2 separate regions of the Homo sapiens genome follow, and region 2 is linked to region 1. Evidence: promoter capture Hi-C in 16 types of primary human blood cells and fetal thymus (Javierre and others, 2016). All regions are on one chromosome and are shown on one strand. Each heading gives the region's core, a stretch centred on a gene start or on the middle of the fragment in contact. The rest is flanking DNA. Distances are from core to core; before and after follow the strand shown.

Region 1 (4,073 bases), core at 935-3,434:
TCCCTACTTCCATTTATGCTAGATGTTTCTGTTTTCCAAGACTGCTCTGTCTGAGATGGCAGATGGAGTTTTCATACTTACTTGGCTAACCTGTCAGTACCCTGGGGTCTAATTCCTATGCCTGGAGAGAACTGGAAGTCCTTGAACACACGGCTCAATGATGTGGGCTCTGCTCATTTATATACATTTATTTTTAAATTTAATATATATTTTAGTTTTTTTATTTCCATAGTTTTTTGGAGAACACGTGGTATTTGGTTACATGGCAAGCTTTTTTTTTTTTTTCCTGAGATGGGGTCTTGCTCTGTTGCCCAGGCTGGGGTGCAGTGGCATGATCTCAGCTCACTGCAACCAACCTCCGCCTGCTAGATTCAAGCAATTCTCCTGCCTCAGCCTCCTCAGTAGCTGGCACTACAGATGTGTGCCACCATGCCTAATTTTTTTATATTTTTAGTAGAGACGGGGGTTTCACCATGCTGGCCAGGCTGGTCTCGAACTCCTGACCTCATGATCTGCCTGCCTTGGCCTCCCAAAGTGCTGAGATTACGGGCATGAGCCACTGCGCCCTGCCAAGTAAGTTCTTTAGTGGTGATTTGTGAGATTCTGGTGCATCTATCACCTTAGCAGTATACACTGAACTCAAATTTGTAGCCTTTTATCCCTCACTCCCTTCCCACCCTTTTCCCCCAAGTCCCCAAAGTCCATTGTATCATTCTTATGCCTTTGTATCCTCATAGTTTAGGTCCTACTTATGAGTGAGAACATACAATGTTTGGTTTTCCATTCCTGAGTTACTTCACTTAGAACAACAGTCTCCAATCCCATCCAGGTTGCCAATGCCATTAATTCATTCCTTTTTATGGCTGAGTAGCATTCCACCGTATACGCATACCACAGTTTCTTTATCCACTCTTTGATTGATGGGCATTTGGGTTGGTTTCATGTTTTTGCAATTACGAATTGTGCTGCTATTAACATGCGTGTGCAAGTATCTTTTTTGTATAATGACTTATTTTCCTCTGCGTAGATACCCAGTAGTGGGATTGCTGGATCAAATGGTAGTTCTATTTTTAGTTATTTAAGGAATCGCCATACTATTTTCCACAGTGGTTGTACTATCCATCAGCAGTGTAGAGGTGTTCCCTCTTCACCAAATCCACGCCAACATCTATTATTTTTTGAGTTTTTGATTTTTTGATTAAGGCCACTCTTGCGGGAGTAAGGTGGTATCACATTGTGGTTTTGATTTGCATTTCCCTAATCATTAGTGATGTTGAGCATTTTTTCTTGTTTGTTGGCCATTTGCATATCCTCTTTTGAGAACTGTCTATTCATGCCAGCCCACTTTTTGATGGGATTTTTTTTTCTTGCTAATTTGTTTGAGTTTCTTGTAGATTCTGGATATTACTGCTTTGTCGGATGTATAGATTGTGAAGATTTTCTCCCACTCTGTAGGTTGTCTGTTTACTCTGCTTGACTATTCCTTTTGCTTTGCAAAAGCTATTTAGTCTACTTTTTTTTTTTTTTTTTTTTTTTTTTTTTTTGAGACGGACCAGACTGGAGTGCGGTGGCGCCATCTCGGCTCACTGCAGCCTCTGCCTCCCGGGTTCAAGTGATTCTCCTGCCTCAGCTTCCCCAGCAACTGAGATTACAGGCACGCGCCATTACACTCGGCTAATTTTTGTATTTTTAGTAGAGACGGGGTTTTGCCATGTTGGCCAGGCTGGTCTGGAACTCCTGACCTCCAGTGATCCGCCTGCCTCGGCCTCCCAGTGTTGGGATTACTGGCGTGAGCCCCGCGCCCGCCCCTGGCTGGCTTCTTTGCCGCAAGCTGTTTCATCAGCAAAGTCTTTGTGACCTGTATCTAGTCTGCTCATTTTTAAATGCGTGTTCTGCACTCCCCAGTGGATGGCCGTGTATCAGGAGCCGGCCCTTTTCTGGAAACAGGCCAGCATTCAGTCTCCACAGAGGCACCATAAACACGCTGGTGGGGCCCTGTACTGTGGTCAAAGTCAAGGCCTCCGGGCAGGACTCGCGGCCCCTCCGGCTGGCGGGTGGGGTTGACCCGCACGTCCCGCCCCGCCTCTCCCTTCGCGCTCCGGACGGGCGACGGTAGCTCGAGACCCGGGACTCCGCCCGCCTCCCCGCGAGTATTTGAGGTCCGGGGCGGCTCCGGCGCCTCTGCCCGCCGTTCTGCTCGCTCGCTCCCCGCTCTGGAGTACGTGTCTGGCTTGGGAGCCGCTCGGACACGCTGGCTTGGGTTTGTCGCTCCAAAGTCGGGAAAGCCGGGGGCGCGAGCGGGGAGGGGGGCAGGGTGGGGGTCGCGCGGGGCCGGGAACGCGCGTGGGTCGACGGCGCGCGGGGACGCTGGAGCCCCGAGAATGGGGCGTGGCCGCGCGGGGCTGTGACCCCAGCAGTCCCAGCGGGGCGGGGGCCCGGGCGAGCGTCCGGCTTGGGTTCCCTTCCGGAGCCTCGCAGCGGCAGAGAACGGCGACGCGGCCGGGTGAGTCGTGCGTGGCCGCGAGCCCGGCCGGTGACGCCGCGGACCCGAGGACCCCGGGCGCCCAGGCCCAGCGCCCACGGAAGAGGCGGCCGGCGCGGGATGGGGGCGGCGCAGAGCCTCCCGGGCCACAGGTGACCCCGGTCGGCCCCGCGGCCTCGGTGACCCCTCGCCCGCTCCGCGACCCGGAGGACGCGTGCTCAGTCTTGGGGCGCCGGGTGTTAGGAGCCGGGCGGGAGGCGGAGAGAGGCCGAGGGGTTCGGCGCCAAACGGTGCCATCCGGGCCCCCTGCGTGTGTTCACTGGACTGGCCGTGCTGGGCTTGGCCAATCCGCAGCACTTTCAGGTCGCCCAGACCTGTGGAGACGATCGTGTGGACCAGCCCGGATCTCCTTACCGCTCTGTGTTTGAATTAAACTCCCTACAGGCAAACTATTACAGGCTTTGATGTCTTCAAGGCAAAGAGGAAACTTTAACTACAAATTGGCATTTAAGTTATTTTCTTCCTTTTTTTTTTTTTTTTTTTTGTCCTAAAGATTGGCTTCGGAAAACTGAGGTACAGAAAATTAATAATTAATGTTCACATGCTGTCAGGAATACTCAGATGCGAGGGGGCATCTGAGTCCATTTTTTGGGCACTTTTGCTTTCTGGGATGCTCTCGTGCCTAATGACAGCCCTGCAGCTGCCTGCATCCTTTCTGGTGGGGGTCAGGCCTGATGCGATGAGATCTGATGTGTTCAGTGACCTTCTAGTTAAGGTCCTGGGCCGGCCTTGTATTGCTGGGGCTTTTATGTGTGCTGGGATTAACACCAGTGACTGCTGTTATCAGCATAGATGGCGTTTGTTCTCATTTCAGGACCGTATCTGAGTAATTGCATCCATTGTGATGTGCCACCAAAGAGAAAAGTACTTTGGTCATACTCGACTATGTAAACTAAGTATTTTAAGTTAAGGCCAATTCCAATGCATTTTATTACAATTCAGCATGAAACAGTTAACACGGACCAGTAACAGTAGAGTGAAATTAGCATGAATAGAACCAACATTCTTTTCCACATATGTAATAATAAGGGCACCCAAGCAGATGTTGTACGGTCCCAGGGAAGACCACACACCTTACATTTCCAGGCTTACTGCACTTGGGATTAAGCCAAGGCATCCAAAGAAAGAAAATTTTTTTTTTTTTTTTTTTTGCCAGGCTGGAGTGCAGTGGTGCGATTTCGGCTGACTGCAACCTCCACCTCCCGGGCTCCATACCTGGCTAATTTTTGTATTTTTAGTAGCAATGGGGTTTCACCATGCTGGCCAGGCTGGTCTCAAACTCCTGACCTCGTGATCTGCCCGCCTTGGCCTCCCAAAGTGCTGGGATTACAGATGTGAGCCACTGCGCCTAGCCTGAAAATAATGTTTAACTCCCATTTATATGTTAGGCTGCTCAGATATATTAAACACATACACACACAACACACACACACACACACATACACACTGCACAAGGAAACAGAGGGACAAAGCAGGAAGTCCAAGTTTCCATTAAACCAGTCTTTAAATGGTTAAATTTAGTAGGAAATAA
Region 2 (4,073 bases), core at 946-3,445, 100 kb after region 1:
GTAAATGCGCCAGTCAGCACCCTGTCAAAACGGACTAATCAGCTTTCTGTAAAATGGACCTATCAGCTCTCTGTAAAATGGACCAATCAGCTCTCTGTAAAATGGACCATTAGCAGGAGGTGGGTGGGGCCAGATAAGGGAATAAAAGCAGGCTGCCTGACCTAGTAGCACAAACTGCTGAGTTTGTTTTCTGTGTTGGGGTTTTTGATTTTTTTTTTTTACGTTCTTCAGGCTAAACTGTGGTGCGTTTTGTTTTTTGATTCTTGGGCTCTGTGTTTTTAGGAGCTGTAATACTTCACATGAAAGTTTGTGGGTTAACTCTTGAAGCTGATGAGGCCATGAACTAGCTAGCAGAAAAAATTGTGCCTATCTGAATGTCAAAAGGAATAAGCTCTGGGTGTCTTTATGTCTTTCTTAAGAACTGTAACGCTCACTGTGAGGTTTTTGTGGCTTTTTTTGCTTAATTTAGGTGTGATCAAGAATCCACAAATTTCAGACATTACTTTCCACTGAAGCTTAATTATTTTAGATCGGAGCCTAAGCATTGGTGTTTAAAACTTTCTCAGGTGGTTTTAGTTACCTTCTGGGGTTGAATCAAATCTGGCTCTAAGTGGTTTTCTGTATGGGCAATATTAGAATTGTTAGGATTCGTGAGACCTCTGAATTTTCAAGCCCCATCTGAGACTTCAGGAATTTTGAGAATGGGCATTTCCGGGTGAGTGATTCTGATGCATGCACTTACCTAGCCCAACCCCTCATGTCACGGGTGGTAACAAAGCTGAGAGCCTAACTTGTTACTTCTAATTCCAGCCGAGGTGGAGTAACAAGTATCAAGAGTTATCCTCCCATTGTTATTAACCGTAAACTGGACAATGTATACGAAACAACTGGTGGGTTGGTTTGGATCTTGTGGAAGCTTGGTTTTTATTAGATAATAGTTTAGAATAATCTTCTAGGGCTATACTAGCCCTAGTCCTGAGGCCTGAGATCTCTGGACTCTCAACTACATGCTGAAATGTCTAGCATATTTTAAAAAGTTATTAAACCTACGTAGTGTAAGTATGACCCATAACCAGGAAAAAGTCAATAAAAACACACGAAAGTGAGACAAATGTTAAAATTAACAAAGACTGCAATGCAACTCTTAGAAATATGTTAAAGGATTTAAGGAGTAGATGGCATAGCGAGTGAACAGATAGAAAACCTCAACAGAAAAATAGAAACTTAAAAATTACTGGGAGGCTGAGGTAGGAGAATGGCGTGAACCCAGGACGCGGAGCTTGCAGTAAGCCGAGGTTGCGCAACTGCATTGCAGCCTGGGCGACAGAGCGAGACTCCATCTCAAAAAAAAAAATTCTGAAACATTTAAAATGAAACATTTGGCAGATGAACTTAATATTGGATTGGACATTTTAAAAAATCAGTGAATTATATACATTACTTTTTACCCCTAAATACGTTTTTATATACCCCTAAATGTGCATTTTTTATTTTTTAAAAGGGCATTTTCCTATGTAACCGTAATACCTCATACTTATTAAAATGAACAATTAGTTTGTCATACTGAATCCATATTCAAATTTTCCAGCGGTCTTGGAGATACTTTTATAGCTTGTTTATTTGAGCAAGAATCCATTCAAGGGTTATGCATCAAATTTCATTGTGATGTTGCTTAAAATTCTTTTAATCCAGAACACCACCTCAGCATTGTGTCTCCTTCATTTTCTGACACATTGATTTAAGAGCTCATTCTTGTACAATATCCCACGAACAAGGTTGCCAGTGGTATTCATTTTAGTCGATTTCAGCCAGAATAGGGTTGGGAGAAGAAAAGATGCATGAAATAAAGTATTTCTGGATCTTCATGTTTTTAGCTGCTAAATCAGAGCTCTCGTGCCTATGCATATTTCATGCAACAGAAAATCGCCTGGGCTTTGTTAAATGTCAATACATCTCTCTGGCATCATTTATAATGGCTACCTTGTGATCCATTAGGTAACTTAACCATAATGTATTATTCAATCATGTAAAAACAGACATTCCAGCTATTTATATTTTTACCATTACAGATATCACTTTGATAATTTGATGGGAGGAAAATTGCACGTCATTATTTAAATTTTCATTTATTAGTCACCCATACTTCTTTTAGAATTAGCCTATTTTTATTTGCCTACTTTTGTCCTTGGGATATTCATTTTTTTGTCTTGCAGTTTTTAAGCACTCTCTACCAATAGATTTTTCTTAATGTTATATACATATCGCAAGATAATTCCCGTGCTTTTAATTTACATATTAGTGTTATTAATATTTTAAGTAAAGAACTTTTTTTATTTAAATAGTCCACTTTAGTATTTTTTTTGTTTTCTTCCTCCAGAGTCTTGCATAGAAAGTCTTCTTGACACTCAGATTATATAAATATTCACTTGTCTTTTTCCTTAGAGCTTTTATAATTTTGTGTTTTTGCATTAACTCATTTGGAACTTGTTTTAGACTAACATGAGAAGTTTAATTTTTAAGGTAATAAGTTTTATTGTGTGTATTAAAAACACTGAGGCTGGGCATGGTAGCTTACACCCGCAATCCCAGCACTTTGGGAGGCCAAGGCAGGAAGATGGCTTGAGCCCAGGAGTTCAAGACCAATCTAGGCAAGTAAGACCAGTAAGTCAAGCCTAATGAAGCCATGAGTGATAAGAAAAAGGCATTATGAACTTAGCAACACTACCAGTAAGTGGGAGTAAAGACCTTTAAGAGGTTTTTTTCCTCACACCAATCAGTTCTTTGACACCAACTGGGTGTCCAACAATTCAATTCAATTCTGACAGTACTTAACGTCCAGTTAGAGGGCTCAGCCCCCAAGACTACCCCCTCTTCAGACACCTGTCACAAATGGGGTGCCCAGGCTCTTCACACTGCTGCCCGGCCAAGTACAAATTTGGGGATTCCCATAACCTCCCTCAGGCTTAATAATTTACTAGAATGACTCACAGAACTCAAGAAAGCACTTTATTATTATCACCAGTTTATTATAAAGGCAGAAACAACCAGTGGAAGAGATGCAGAGAGCAAGTTAAGGGGGGTCGGGGGTGCGTGCAGAGAGCTTCCATTCCCTCTCTAGACACTCCACCCTCTCAGCACCTGTCTGTTCATTAACCCACATGCTCCCTCAACCTGGTCTTTTTGATTTTTATGGAGGTTCCATTACATAGGTGTTATTGATTAATTCACTGGCCATTGGTGGCTGAACTCAATTCCCAGCCCTTCTTCCCTCCCCAGGGGATCACCAAGAGCCGCCTCATCAGCATAAGCTCAGGTGTAGCTAAAGCGGCTCATTTTGAATAGCAAAACACACTCGCATTACTCAGGAAATTCCAAGGGTTTTAGGAGCTCTGTGCCGGGAACTGGGGATAAACACCAGATATATTTTTTATTATATCACGAACCTAAATGAAAGTAACCTCTTAGGAAGCTTGAAAAGGGATGAAAATAGCTAGTTAGGAGTTGTCGACTGACAGGAAGAAGCTGAGGCAAAATTAATATGAGAGTTTATTTGGGTCAGGGTTGAGAACAGCTGCTTGGGAAACACTTCCAAGTTGTCTTGGGAAGTGCCCAGAGAACAAAGGATGAATCAGGAGAGGAGGCAATTACCAACATTGTTGGTTAAGAATTCTCATTGGTTTACAGAAATAACATTGATTAGTGATTGGCTATAGTTGAACTATAGGGTATAAGTTATGTTGTCCAGCATATGCCGTCGTTAGGTTAATTTATAGCTATTGGTGGTGGCATTGGGTCAAGAGTCCACATAGCAGGCAGATTACATACATACATAGCTCAAGCAGTGAGTGAGATGTGACTACTGTCACATTTCAATGCCTGTCTGGACCTGATGACTTAAAGGGGTTCATATTCCTCAGATAAAAAGTTTCCTTTCTGGCCCGGACTGGTGGCTCACACCTGTAATCCCAGAAATTTGGGAAGCCAATGTGGGAGGATCACTTGAGGCCAGGAGTTTGAGACCATCCTGGGCAACCTAGTGAGACCTTGTCTCTACAAAAAATAAATAAAATTAG

What was found. The method cuts DNA at HindIII sites, captures the fragments that hold promoters and counts their contacts. A CHiCAGO score of 5 or more calls a contact.
Region 2: a fragment that was not itself captured here is called in contact with the fragment with the promoter of SERPINB6 in region 1 in 1 of 17 cell types (monocytes); the score reaches 5.3 in monocytes.

Annotation. Positions count from the first base shown.
Region 1 is chr6:2,969,678-2,973,750 of GRCh38, reverse strand. It overlaps SERPINB6 (serpin family B member 6), which reads left to right and starts at 2,184. Exons shown (of 7, transcript NM_004568.6): 1 at 2,184-2,218. RefSeq lists an enhancer at 1,879-2,403. The HindIII fragment of the contact is 12,287 bases long and covers 273-4,073 here.
Region 2 is chr6:2,865,515-2,869,587 of GRCh38, reverse strand. It overlaps the pseudogene SERPINB9P1. Among named protein-coding and RNA genes, the nearest start is that of MIR4645, 13 kb to the right of the region's middle. RefSeq lists enhancers at 2,622-2,771, 2,792-2,901. The HindIII fragment of the contact is 2,553 bases long and covers 919-3,471 here.